Linked DNA regions of Homo sapiens: region 2 is linked to region 1. The links are contacts of gene promoters, found by promoter capture Hi-C in blood cells and fetal thymus (Javierre and others, 2016). All regions are on one chromosome and are shown on one strand. Each heading gives the region's core, a stretch centred on a gene start or on the middle of the fragment in contact. The rest is flanking DNA. Distances are from core to core; before and after follow the strand shown. Region 1 holds the start of LRP1-AS (LRP1 antisense RNA). Region 2 overlaps HSD17B6 (hydroxysteroid 17-beta dehydrogenase 6).

The links. The method cuts DNA at HindIII sites, captures the fragments that hold promoters and counts their contacts. A CHiCAGO score of 5 or more calls a contact.
Region 2: a contact is called between a fragment that was not itself captured here and the fragment with the promoter of LRP1-AS in region 1, in 6 of 17 cell types (naive CD4 T cells, erythroblasts, naive B cells and 3 more). The highest score is 6.7, in naive CD4 T cells.

The regions. Positions count from the first base shown.
Region 1 is chr12:57,144,459-57,151,446 of GRCh38, forward strand. It overlaps LRP1-AS (LRP1 antisense RNA), which reads right to left and starts at 3,161. Exons shown (of 2, transcript NR_131938.2): 1 at 2,981-3,161; 2 at 162-625. LRP1 (LDL receptor related protein 1) reads left to right here. Exons shown (of 89, transcript NM_002332.3): 5 at 514-642; 6 at 769-1,032. RefSeq lists enhancers at 1,775-2,703, 4,561-5,488. The HindIII fragment of the contact is 5,560 bases long and covers 1-3,695 here.
Region 2 is chr12:56,767,850-56,774,837 of GRCh38, forward strand. HSD17B6 (hydroxysteroid 17-beta dehydrogenase 6) reads left to right here. Exons shown (of 5, transcript NM_003725.4): 2 at 5,985-6,316. The coding sequence starts at 6,004. Among named protein-coding and RNA genes, the nearest start is that of HSD17B6, 8.0 kb to the left of the region's middle. The HindIII fragment of the contact is 2,222 bases long and covers 2,090-4,311 here.

The sequences.
Region 1 (6,988 bases), core at 1,911-4,410:
AATTTGCCTCCCTCGGGTCTTTGTGCAAATGCCACCTTCTCAGTGAAGCCGTCCCCCGACCCCTCTAAAACTGCATCCCTGCCATCTGCATTCTCTATCCCTGTTCTCTTTTCATTGCACTAGCACCTCTAATGTATACTTTATTTACTTTGTTTCATATGTTATTATAGTAACTATATTTCATTTATTATCTGAATATAAGTTTCATGAGGACAGCAATGTGGGTCTATTTTAAAGTTCACTGATGCACCCCTGGCACCTGACCCATAGTAGGGACTCAATAAATCTTCCCTGCGTGGATGAGTGATATGTACACGAGTGTTTCTCTAGAGTGGATTCCAAGACTGGACTTGCTGGGTGTTAAGGTTTGCACATTTCATGCTGTAATAGATTCTGCCGAACTGTCCTTCAAGGTAGCTGTAAGGATGGACATGTTGATCATGTCTGATGATCACCCACTTCGTTGCCCTTGTCACACTGGAAATGACCACATTCTTGCCCTTTCCTCGGCAGATTTTGATGAGTGCTCAGTGTACGGCACCTGCAGCCAGCTATGCACCAACACAGACGGCTCCTTCATATGTGGCTGTGTTGAAGGATACCTCCTGCAGCCGGATAACCGCTCCTGCAAGGCCAAGAACGGTGGGTGGGGTTGCCTCTGGCCACAGTGCTAACTAAGCCCCCTCAATGCTGTTCCCTGGTGGGTGGTGGCCTGAGAGGTGGTCCTAGAGCCCTGGCTGCACGGACTCTTCTCTTCCCCATTCCCAGAGCCAGTAGACCGGCCCCCTGTGCTGTTGATAGCCAACTCCCAGAACATCTTGGCCACGTACCTGAGTGGGGCCCAGGTGTCTACCATCACACCTACGAGCACGCGGCAGACCACAGCCATGGACTTCAGCTATGCCAACGAGACCGTATGCTGGGTGCATGTTGGGGACAGTGCTGCTCAGACGCAGCTCAAGTGTGCCCGCATGCCTGGCCTAAAGGGCTTCGTGGATGAGCACACCATCAACATCTCCCTCAGTCTGCACCGTGAGTCACCTGCTCTCAGCTTGGAGGGCTGGGGAGGGTAGGGGAGACAGGGAAGGTGGACCCTATCTTGAACAGAGGCCGGGAGTTACACAGGATGGTCCTGTCTGGGGCAGGAGAAGCAGGAGGCTGGATACAATGGTGTGTGTTTGAGGCAGGGGCAGAGCCACCGGCACGCTCCCTCCCAGCTCTCTGAGCAAGTGTCTGGATGGCCCCTGCATTTCTGGCCAAGGGCTGAGGGGGCAGTGAATGGTCAATCTCCAGAGACCAGGGACTGTCCCTTCTCTGAGAGGGGAGTGTTGACTAGACTGCAGAGGGACTTTCCGGTGCAGTGGGAGCCAAGGCTAGGGAAAGAAGGAGCGGAAGCCTGAGGTGCCCTGTTAGGCTGCAGCTGAGGGTAAAGGAGCTGGGGCCCAGCTGCTCTGTCTCCATGGGCCATCGTTTCCCTCGGGGACCATTGCCAATGGACTCTCTGCTGCCATCGGGGGAGGGCAGTACTGAGGTTATTTCTCTGTGGCTTTGTGGCAGTGAATGAGGCTGGGAGAGGAGCGTGAGCCACATGAGATTTTAGAATATCCTGGATGCTTCCATTCAGGCTTCTCCCTAGGCTACACTTTTGCTATCCTAGTTGTGGAAGAAGGGGTGTCACAGAAAGGGGCACGAGCATAGCTGGGTGTAGACCCACTGCCGGGAACAGCCCTGCCCATCTCAGAGGCTGTTACACCAGCAACCTTAAAAGTCAACATCTGGCAGCATCACATTTCCAAAGAAATGCACCACAGGGCTGAGAGGAAGAATCTGGCCTGTGGTTGATCTGACCCCCTAAGGGAGATTAACTTGATCTGTAACTGTTTAGTAAACCAGAATTCCCATCTCTGCCTTGGTTTCCTAATCTGCATAATGGGTTTGAGCTTGTCTGTCTAGATCAGATTAACTGGAGTGAAAGCCAGTGGTAAAGGACAGCACACTTTGAAGTTGAGGATTGTGAACCTTGGGCCTCTCTAGAAGATCTTCAAGTTTCTTTATTTGGTTCTTGTGATGAAAAGAAAGATCCCAGGAGGTTACAAGGGATTCATTCTGGGAGAGAGAAAGGCCCCTCCCCGGGATGGTGGCGAGCAGGGGTTCCTCTGAGAGCCCTCACTCTCCGTGGCCTCAGCGTAAGGTTCACATTTCTGCCTTTGGCTCCTCCAGAGCATCCCTGATAGCGTCCTTGGGCTGCTGCTGTCCACAGCTCACCTGTGATCAGACATGTGTCCTCCTTGGGGTGCTGAGCTGGGGGCTGTCAAGCCTGGTTGGCTGAGCTCTTAACGAGTGGGCGACTCAGGGAACCCCATGGCTGATGGGGTGGGATTGGTGCTAGACCCTCTTGTGCAGCTGCCCTCCCCCTGTTCCTTGTCCACTGACCTACTCAACAGGCCTGTCTGGGCAGACAGCTTGTCAGTTTCCTCCCCAGCCCTGCATCTTGCCATACAGTGGGCTTCTGGGTAGGTGGCTATGGGGTGTCCTGGAGGTAACCTTCTCAACTTCTACTCTGGCCTCATCTCCTTATCTGACTTCCTCCCCAGGAGAAGCTGGTACCCCTCCCTTGGCAAACAGATTTGCCTTGCCTCCCAGTCTGCTAAACTCACTGGGCCTCTCAGGGGCAGAGTCCAGGAGGCTAGAAGAGTCCAAGGGGAAATGCTTGTGGGGTAAATGAGTGGGTTTCTCTCATCCCAGCTTCTGTCCCTTCCTCCCTGCCCTCCCCCTGCTCCACGTCCCTGCCGCCTGAATGTCTGGCTGTCACCCTGAGGATGGTTGTTTTGCTCTCTCCCACAAACTAATTATGGGTCCCAAACTGAGGACGTCAGTGTCTCTCCCCTAGCCCCTCCCCCAGTTTCTGGGTCATCCCCCTCCCCAGGAGATGCTGACTGGCCTGCCCTGGTGTGTAGGGTGGCTGGTCCCAGGCACTCACCTGCACAGTGGCTGCTGGCCTGTAATTAGCTCCCCAAGGAGGACGAAGAAGAAAGGCTGCAGCTTTCCCCTGCTTTCACTCTGCCCTCCAGGGCAGCCCTCCCTGCAAGCCTTCCATTCTGTGCTGTGACTGTGACCTCTGTTGGACCCCTGGGGCTGAGCCTCATGCAGCAGGGGTGCACACAGAGGGAGGAGTCTGACAATTGAGGGGTGTTCGAGCCAGCGAGGCCAGCCCGCTGGTGCAGGCAGAAGGGGGAGCCTGCCCCAGAGAAAACTCTGGAAGCAGAAATAGAATAGAAAGAAGGAAGGAGGCCAGGAAATGAGCCTGGTTCACATGTGTCCTGGGCCATGTGAGTCAGACCTGTTGTGGAGTCCTGAGAGCCCCCGAGGGCCCCCCTGAGGCCCTGCAGTGTGTGAACATTCCTCTTCAATGCCCCAGGGCTGCTGACCCTCCTGCCTCAGGCCCAGTGTTATCCCCCTGGATTGGGTGGGTCATCTCTTTTCCTCCCACCTGAGATTACCTCCCCCTCCCCTCTGCCGCTGGCCCAGTGGTTTGGGGAGGTCTATGAGGCTCGAATTCCAAGACCAGAGAACTCCATGGTGAGAGCCGGAAGAGAAGGCAAGACCCTTGGCCAGTACCAAGAGCAGCCCTGGCTTTCACTACTGCTTTCTCAAAGGGGCTATGCATTGATTTGATTTTAGATGGTACCTGGACAAGCTTTTTTTTTTTTTTTTTAACTGTTATAGTTACGTTTTTATTTGATATGCATTAGGAAACTCCTGTAACTAGCACATCAAATCTGTTACTTCAGCAATTGTTTAGCATGCAGCGAAATAAGAAAAGTAAGTTAATTGAAATAACTGGTAATAAACAGTAGCGCAAGCTGTACATAAGCATGGTAGACATTTTGAAAGTGATACACAAAAGACTAAAGTTCTGAAAATTGAGGCCCAGAGGGATCAACAGGCCTGATAGTCCCTTAGTCAGGAACCAGGCCTGCGCACTCTCACCCCCACCTCTGACCAGTCTCTCAGCTCCAGAGGCCTATGGAGCCTGTAACCCAGCTTTGTCCAGCCTCCTGCCAGGCTGCCCCTGGGCAGGCCTGGTGGTGCAGTCTACCGACCCCAGCCCAGCCCTGCATTTCCTAAGCTGAGCTCCTCTGATCTGTATTCCCTTCACCTTGGAGGATGCCACCACTGTAGAAAGAATGAGGCAGACTGCAAGATTGGGGTCCTGGGAACATGGGTGTGTATGGTGAGGGGAGGTTCTGAGGTTGTAAATAGAGGCCTTGAAGGAAATCGGGTTTGCTGAAGTCACTCAGGAGTTTGGACTGTGTGTGAAAGGATGGTCTGAAGGGGCTCTCAGAGGTCTCAGGGTTCCCCTCCCTGCACCATGCTGCATGGGGAAGAAGGAGGTGGCTGGGGAGCTCAGCAAAGGGCCCCTAGGCTGCAGGCAGCAAGGTTGCGAAATGGGTCCCAGGTCCAGCTGGCCAACTTCACTTTTCCCTTCCTCTCCCTTTCTTTTATTTATTTATTTTTTTAGTGTGTGTGTTTTCGAAATCACAACAGGAAATGGGGTAGTGATTTGTCTAGAGGGGAGGCAAAGAAGGGGCAGACAGCAGTCCCTCTGAGTCTAATGAACTGGCTGCTGCTGCTGGAAGGGGTGCTACCTCCCCACTGTGCTGGGCACCCCTGGACCCTCTCAGCCTCCCACCCTGCCTACAAAGCACTTCCAGACTTCACATGTGAAAGCTAACCATGCCCATCCTTGGCCTTTCTGACCCATGGGATGCCAGGCTGTTTGGGGAGGGGTGGCTCTAGCCACCCCACTCTTTGGCCTTAGGCCCCCTGCATCCTGGCACTTTTGCTTCCCATTCCTGTTCTGAGTTTCCTAATCATTTAACAGCTCACTCTTGCTCCTCCTCTCTCCTGGCCCGGGCCAGCCCTGTGTCTCCCGGCCCAGATCCAGCCCTGTCCTCTCCTCCCCCGCTGTCTCCTTGAAATTGCCTCTCCACCCAGACTGCTCCCAGCACTCCCCTTGCTGTTTTCAAGCCAAAGGAAGTAACTTAAGCAAGAGAGATGTGTTTTAGAGCCCGGCAAGGATTTCTCAATAGAGGGAAGACCCTAAGATGGGCTGAGTGGAATCCAGGCATCATCCCTGGGATCTAGGTCGAAATGCCTCTTGGGGACCTAAGCCAGGCAGGGGAAGGTAGCAGGACATAACCACAGGCTGGAATCACAGGCAGGAGCAGGAAGAGAGCCCAGGAGAACGAGGTGACACAACACGGCTAAGCTCCAGACTGGCTGGTGGAAGGAAGAGCTGAAGTCGGGACCCAGCAGGAAACAAGGAGCATGAGGCCACATCGTTTAGCAGAGCTTCTGCCAGGCTCGCCAGGAGGTCTCCTTCCCACCTTCGAAGTCCTCAGACTCTCCGCCATCTCTCCCAGGCCCAGGCGAGATCCCTGAGTAGGATTACTAGACAGACTGTCCTCTCCCACTGTCTTGGAGTGTCCCAAGGCCAGAGAGGCAGGATCCTGGCAGTAGAAGAGAGGGGGAAAATGATGTCCCAGCTCTAGAACAACAGACTCAGTCTTCAATAAATATTTGTTCAATGGATCAATACATGTGTGTCAGACGCCTGAGACAAAGACAAAAGGCAGCGCTCTCCTTACAGTATTTGCAGTCAGGTGAAGAGGCCATGATCAAAGAAGCTCCAGAGGCCTATGGAGCCTGTAACAGGAAAACTTCCTTCTTTTTTTTTTTTTTTTTTTTGAGATGGAGTCTCACTCTGTCGCCCAGGCTGGAGTGCAGTGATGCAATCTTGGCTCACTGCAAGCTCTGCCTCCCGGGTTCACGCCATTCTTCTGCCTCAGGCTCCCGAGTAGCTAGGACTACAGGTGCCCGCCACCACGCCTGGCTAATTTTTTGTGTTTTTAGTAGAGACAGAGTTTTACCATGTTAGCCAGGATGGTCTCGATCTCCTGGCCTCATGATCCACCTGCTTCAGCCTCCCAGAGTGCTGGGATTACAGGCGTGAGCCACTGAGCCTGGCCTTGAAAACTTCCTTCTAATAGGGCAAGCTTCCTTCTGGGAGCCTGAGCCGAGTCTTGACGAGTAGTAGGTGTTAGCCCCAAATGGCCCACCTGGAGGGCCCACCTAGAGTCAGGAGGCCACAGGGCTCTGGCTGGAGGCACAGAGGGCGACTTGGTGGAAAAGGTGGGAAAGGATGGGTTCAGGGAGGGGAGGACATGGTGGGAACCGCAGCCCCCATGTGGGGAGTGTTTATCATGCACCAGGCCTCATGCTAAGTGCAGTTAGTGTACCATCCAGTTTTACAAATGAGGAAACAGAGACTCAGAGGCATTAAGTAACTTGCTCATAGCCTCAGTTGGAAGGTGACAGAACCAGAATTCAAACTCAGGCTGTCAGTGTCTAGGGCCCAGTTGGACCCAGGGCAGAGCAGAATGATATGAGGAGAGGTGGGGAGGTTCCTGGAACAAGGGCCAGAATCTAGTGTGCTCCCTGGGGATGTGGATAGAGGTCCAGGGACCTCTTTGGATGTGTATACACTCTTGGGTGTGTAGATGTGTTGGGTGACATTTTCTCAGGACATAAAGGCTTCTTCCTTCCTTCCGATTTCCTTATTTTAGAGCAGGTGACTAGAATCCTGCAGCTGAAGCTAGAGTCTTTTTGGGCATGGGGTGGGTCCCATGTGTTTGGGAAAGCAGCCACCATGTATGGAAATGCCTCTTGAACAATGGGAATGATGGAGAAGTTGAGAAAAGCTGGAGTTGTAGTGAGTGCAGATGCTGAGCAGTGGGATGGGGTGCCAGGACACCAGGTCTATTCTGGGGCCTGGAACTGAAAGTCCTCTGTGCCATAATGGGCAGCTGTGGTCTCTCGTCTGACTCCTGCACCTCTTCCCTGCTTCCTAGCCTCCCTCTTCATGCTGGAATCCCCTGCCCCTCTGCCCCTAGACCACCCCCAACTCCTTCCACAACACAGCCTC
Region 2 (6,988 bases), core at 1,951-4,450, 380 kb before region 1:
TATGTGTGTGTATACGTGTATATATACACGTATATACACATATATATACAATGTATACACACACGTATACAATATACACACACACACATATATATGTGTGAAACCATGTGTGTGTGTGTGTGTATATTGTGTATATATATATATGGTTTCACACAGTGCCTGGCAAGGAAAGTTCTCTATAACTGTTCACTATTATTATCGTGTGTCAAGCTGAGGAGTTCTGACTTTATCCTGTGGGTGACAGGGAGTCACAGACAGAATCCAATGAGAGCATGGCACGATCTGAAAGCAATCTTCTTCTTCTTCACTGAAGGCCAGGTTAGGATCTAAGAATCAGATAAAATCATAAGAAAAAAGAATGTGCTAAATATTGCAGTGAGGTCTGAGGAGAAGAGAGAGGAAGCCTTGGGAATTGTCTGCTAATAGGTCCTTGGTGAGCTGTGAGAGAGTTTCCAGAGAGTGATGGGAATGGAAGGTGAAGTGCAAGGAGCTCGTGGGTGGCAAGAAAATAGAGGGCCTGTGCTTGCCCTTTGAATATTTTGGCCATATGGGGAAGAGAGAGGATGGTTATTAAAGGGGTGGCAGGTTAGGATGGTCTTAGGGAGGATGAAAGGCAGAAGAAAGAGGATAGAAGACAATACAGAGAAATTTAGAGCAGAGGTAGCCTCACTGGGCCCTGGAACCCCCTGAGATGACAGGCAAAATGTTGTGGGTAGGAATTAGAGTGTCCAGGTTGAGCAGATCTGGATTTTGGCAGGGAAGCAACGTGTATGCTCATCTGTGGAAGGAGAGCTAGGTAAACATGAGGTTGGGAAATTTTGAAGGCTAGTAAAGATTTGGAACAGGTGTTGTTGCGAAATAATAAGGGAGGAGTCAAATGGAGGCAAACAGAAGGTTTGCCTTATATTGGCGGTGGGCGGGGGGGAGGGGGCGCAGCTGAGATAGGATAACATTGATTTGTTGTATAAAAGTTTGTTTTCTGGTCTTTCTCTAGCACCACTTGGCAGCTGGCAGCTAGAGAACATGGATGGTAAAGGCTTTGGGGTGCTAGTGAAGCACCCCTAAAATGGCCAACTATGAGACCTGTGCTGAATAAGGAGGCAAATGAAACTGTGAGAGGATTGCAGTAATAGAGAGAGACTGAGGAAAAGGAAGGCAGAGCAGGAAGAAAGAAGTAGAGGGGAGTGGGGGGAGGGGAAGAGCCCCAAAGATAGGATGGGGCTGTGCAGAGAGGGCAGTTTCAGCTTTTCAAGGTTTTTTTTTTTTTTTTTGAGGCAGAGTCTCACTCTGTCACTTAAGCTGGAGTGCAGTGGCGTGATCTTGGCTTACTGCAACCTCTGCCTCCCAGGTTTAAGCGATTCTTGTGCCTCCGCCTCCCAAGTAGCTGGGACTACAGGCACTGCCACCACACTCAGCTAATTTTTGTATTTTTAGTAGAGATGGGGCTTAGTCATGTTGCCCAGGCTGGTCTCGAACTCCTGACCTCAGGTGATCTGCCTGCCTCAGCTTCCCAAAGTGCTGGGATTACAGGCGTGAGCCACCGTGCCTGGCCTAGCTTTTCAAGATCTTTGTGGGAGAGTAGCTTCAAGCAATGATGAAGCCCAAGATGGGGATCAGACCTGAAATAAACAGTGGAAGTTCTTAACCTATGCATGTGTGATTATGAAGGTGTTTTCTAGGCTCGACCTCAAAACTCATTAAATAAAATTAACCAGATAGCATAGTGTAGATGAGAAAGGAAGAGACTGACAATATGATGTAAGAAAGCTGAATTCTTATTTACCATAGCAGGAAGTTAATTGAGAATGTCAAAAATTGGTAAATCAAGAAATAGCAGCTTAAGTACTGTGTATAAATAATTTGAGTCAAAGGCAAAAACGTAAAGTAATTGCACAGCTTTTGCAGATGAATGGTTTGTAAAAGCAAGCAGGCCACGCCACTTCGGGTATTTGGACATTTGAAATATTCGAGGCACATTCAGGTTTGGCCTAGGGTTTGGGATTCCGCCAGGTGTATCTCTTCTGCAGGTCTTCTTGCTGCTAGGCATGCGATGGCTGAATAGTAATGCCCGGGGAAACTGTGAGGGCCAAGCTTCTCTCTAATGGGGGAAATACGTTTTCATCTTTGACTGGCAACAGAAAATTACCTTTTAGTCAATAAACAGTCAGGTTGAAGCTCTCTGTGTTACTGTAGTGCACCAGGGAATGCCACTTAGGCAGAACAGAGGCAGCTGGCTAGAGAACACAGAGCTCTCAGATTGGAGAGAGGCAAAGGGCTTCAGAGAAGGAAGGAGAGAGACAGAGGGAAGAGGGGAAAAGGAGAGAAAGAGAAGATGGTGGGGGAGGGAGGAGCAATATATGCCTCTCTCCACTGTTTTCTCCCTTTCACTGTCTCCTTCCACTTTACTTGCCTACACCCTAAGTTGCCCTCTCGCTACTTACTGCCTTCTCTCCTCTCCTTCCCAGACCAGGCTTTTGAAAAAGAGTCTCCACTCGGCTCCACTTCCTGCCCTCCAATTCATGCAGCAGCCCACTGAAGATTGGCTTCTGTGCCCTTCACTGTCTGAGTCTTCCCGTTAAGAGCACCAGTGCCCTCCTATTACCCAGCAGACCTCCTGGTTGCATTGCTGATCCTCATTAAGCCCCCCTTTCCTTGGCTTTCATCAGCTTGCTTTTTCCTACTTCTCTGGCTCATTCTCCCTGCTTTTTTTCTCTCAATTTTTTATCAGGATATTTTTACTTAGTATAACTTAATTTATCTAACATTTATTAAGTATCTGCTATGTGCCATTCACTGGGCCAGGTGCAGACTAATATGTAACCTGGGCTCTCAAGGGCCTTATAGTCTAAAAATGGGGAAGAGCAGTGCAATGAAGTACAGCAGGCATCATGATAAACCCAGGCCACAATGGGGACACTAAGGAGGGTATAGTCAATTCTGTTAGACCATGGGGCAGGTTAAATCAGGGCAGGAAAGTCTCTTGCCTGGACCATTTTTTGTCCCCTCTGTCTAGTACTGTATGTAATCTCTCAGTGCTCACCTATGAAACAGTGTGGCAGCCATTGAGGTGCATTGCTCAGATCACTCAAGAAAATCTGCTATGAGGAGTGAGGTTGACTTCCAGCCTCCAGTTGTGGCACCCTCCGATCTGCTGTGGTATTTACACTGAGGCACGCTCCTCTTGGGCACTGGTCAGCCAATGACCAGAAGGATGGCAGTACTGGAGCTGGACCAGTTCAGCCCAGTGTGGAACTTCTCCAGTGGCAGTCTTTGCTCAGGCTCATGGGCCTGGCTGAGACTTTCTTGGGGCTCTACTACAGTCTAAAGCTCTTCCTATCTTCTCCTCCTTCTGTTCCCCTCTCCTTCCCGAGGTGTCAGATCTGCATTACCACCTATTCCTGTGCCTTCCCCCTTTGTCCTCTGAGGGTGTTTCCCCCATAATCTCTTGCATGTCTAATTTTGTCTTGGTATCTGAACTGACACAGAGGAATAATGATGGGACCTGTCTTGTAGGGTTCTTGTGAGAATTCAAAAAGTTAATATATGTGACATCTTAGAACAGAGCCTGATACACAGCAAGTGCTCGGCAAGGGTTGCAATTTTTTTTTTTTTTTTTTTTTTTTGAGATGGGCAGAATCTCGCTCTGTCACCCAGGCTGGAATGCAATGGCATGATCTCGGCTCACTGCAACCTCCACCTCCCGGGTTCAAGCGATTCTCCTGCCTCAGCCTCCCAAGTAGCTGGGATTACAGGCGCCCACAATCATGCCTGGCTAATTTTTGTATTTTTGTAGAGATGCGGTTTCGCCATGTTGACCAGGCTGATCTCAAACTCCTGACCTCAGGTGATCTGCCTGCCTTGGCCTCCCAACATGCTGAGATTACAGGCATGTGCCAGTGTGCCTGGCCTAGCTATTATTTTTTAATTATCCTTTTGATATGGTTTGGCTTTGTGTCGCTACCCAAATCATATCTTGAATTGTAATTCCTAGGTGTTTAGGGAGGAACCTGGTGGGAGGTGATTGGATCATGGGGGTGGTTTCCCCCATGTTGAGTTCTCATGAGAGCTGATGGTTTTATAAGCGTTTGGTAGTTCCTCTCTTGCTTGCTTTTGCTTTCCTGCCATCATGTGTTTGCTTCCCCTTCTACCATGATTGTAATTTTCCTGAGACCTCCCCAGCCATGTGGAACTGTGAATCAATTAAACCTCTTTTCTTTATAAATTACCCAGTCTCGGGTGGTATCTTTATAGCTGTGTGAAAACGGACTAGTACACCTGTAGATCTCAACTTATATTTTATTCTCTCTAGGAAGCTTCTCAGACCTCTCTAAACTGCCTTAGAAGCCTCTCCTGAGTGTTCCAGCAGCCTCCTGTTTTTACTTCTGTTATAATGCATTGTTGTCAGTCTTCATAATGAGACTGTGAATTCAATGAAAAATGGACTATGTATTGTTCACTCTTGTGTATCAGTGCCTAACACTGTGTCTGACTCAAGTAGTTGTTGAATTAATGTTTGCTGAATGAAAGTGATGATTAGGCTGAGACTTAAAAGATGAGTGTTATGGCTGGGTGTGGTGGCTCATGCCTGTAATCCCAGCATTTTGGGAGGCCAAGGTGGGTGGATCACCTGAGGTCAGGAGTTCACGACTAGCCTGGCCAACATGGTAAAAAACTCTCTCCCTACTAAAAATACAAAATTAGCCCGGCTTGGTGGCACGTGCCTGTAATCCCAGCTACTCGGGAGGCTGAGGCAAGGAGAATCACTTGAACCCAGGAGGCGGAGGTTGCAGTGAGCTGAGATTGCGCCATTGCACTCCAGCCTGGGCAAAAAGAGTGAAACTCTGTCTCAAAAAAAAAAAAAAAAGAAAAAAAAAAGAGTGTTATTTGCCAAGTAGATGAGGGCTACTTCTTTCCAGTAGAAAGAAGTGTATGCAGAGGCGTAAAAAGCCTGTGCTTTGCAGGGGACTGAAAGTTGTTTGTTTTGGCTAAAGAGTAGGATGCAAGAGAGAAGCCTAAGTAGCCAGAGTGCTGGGGACATTCATGTCAAACTAAGGAGTTTGAATTGCATAGACTAGCCTCATGCAGGCGTTGTGGTATAGGCCTTATGATGCTAGCGGGCCCATACCCATATTTGACCTCTACCTATGTTGTTATGAATTATGTTAGTTCAGCCAACATGTATAGATTACTAAAAAATGGTGGACTTTGCTCCAGAATTTCATATAGAAACATAGGCATCTGTGAACACTCATTTCAACAATGCTTCTGATTGGTCTAGGTTTACAAATTGCTTTGGCTGCAATAACTCACCCAAACTATTGGATCTCCTAATGGATCTCACTGCCTTCACCACACCTGTTTCATCTATCCTCCACTGCCATTGTGAGACAAATCTTCCTAAAACTTAATCTGGCCACCTGACTCTAGTAGCATACTCTGTTTAATGTCTTCTAGTAGCATACTCTGTCCACAGGATAACATCCAGATTCCGTAGTGTGGCTTACAAGGCCTTTCATGATTTGGCCCTTCACTACCTCATCTCCAGTCTCTTCTTATGTATGTTCTGCTCTGCACTCATGCAGAATTGTTTATAGGTCTCAAGAAGTTCTGTGCTGCTCACGACTCCCTTCATGTACACATTGTTACTGCCTGGAATGTTGTCATCCTTATCCACTTTTTGAACTTACTTATCCTATTTGGTAGGAAGTAGTACCAAAATCATTCCTTCTGTGCTAGGCTATCGGTCATCTTCCTTTGTAGACTGTGTGTATACTTCTGTTATGGCACCTTTCACACTGCATTGGATTTGTTTGGTTACCTCACTGACTTCCCTCTCTAGACTGTGGCCCCTTGAGGGTAGGACTAAGTATTAATCAATAAAGAGTCCCTATCACCTAGTGCAATGCCTGGCACATGGCAAATACTGAATAGATATATTGGTTAAATAATAAGGAAGGAATAAAATGTTTTCTTTCTATTGAAAGAGAAGGAAGCACCCTCACTATGTGGCTCTACCTGGCGGCCTTCGTGGGCCTGTACTACCTTCTGCACTGGTACCGGGAGAGGCAGGTGGTGAGCCACCTCCAAGACAAGTATGTCTTTATCACGGGCTGTGACTCGGGCTTTGGGAACCTGCTGGCCAGACAGCTGGATGCACGAGGCTTGAGAGTGCTGGCTGCGTGTCTGACGGAGAAGGGGGCCGAGCAGCTGAGGGGCCAGACGTCTGACAGGCTGGAGACGGTGACCCTGGATGTTACCAAGATGGAGAGCATCGCTGCAGCTACTCAGTGGGTGAAGGAGCATGTGGGGGACAGAGGTATGAAATATTTTCTCCTTTTATTTACTTAGCATGAAGATGCTAAGGTTATATATACAGTTGTTCCTTGGTGTCTCCTGGGGATTGGTTCAAGGACTGCTTGTGGATACTAAAATCCGAGGATGCTCAAATCCCTTATATAAAATAGTGCAGTATTTGGTTATAACCTATGCACATCCTTTAAGGTATGGATACTTTAAATCATGCCTGGGTTACATAAAATACTAAATACTTTGTAAATGATATGTAAATAGTAGTTATACTGTATTGTTTAGGGCAGCCGTCCCCAGCCTTTTTGGCACCAGGGACCGGTTTTGTGGAAGACAGTTTTTCCATGGACAGGGAGTGGGGATGGTTTTGGGATGATTCAAGTGCATTGCATTTATTGTGCACTTCATTATATTATTACATTGTAATATATAATGAAATAATTATACAACTCACCATGATGTAGAATCAGTTGGAGCCCTGAGCTTGTTTTCCTGTATCTACATGGTCCCATCTGGGGGTGATAAGAGACAGTGACAGATCATCAGGCATTAGATTCTCAACAGGAGTGCATAGGATATATCCCTGGCATGTGCAGTTCACAATAGGGTTAGTGCTCCTGTGAGAATCTACTGCTGCCACTGACCTGACAGGAGGCGGAGCTCAGGCAGTAATGCCTGTGAT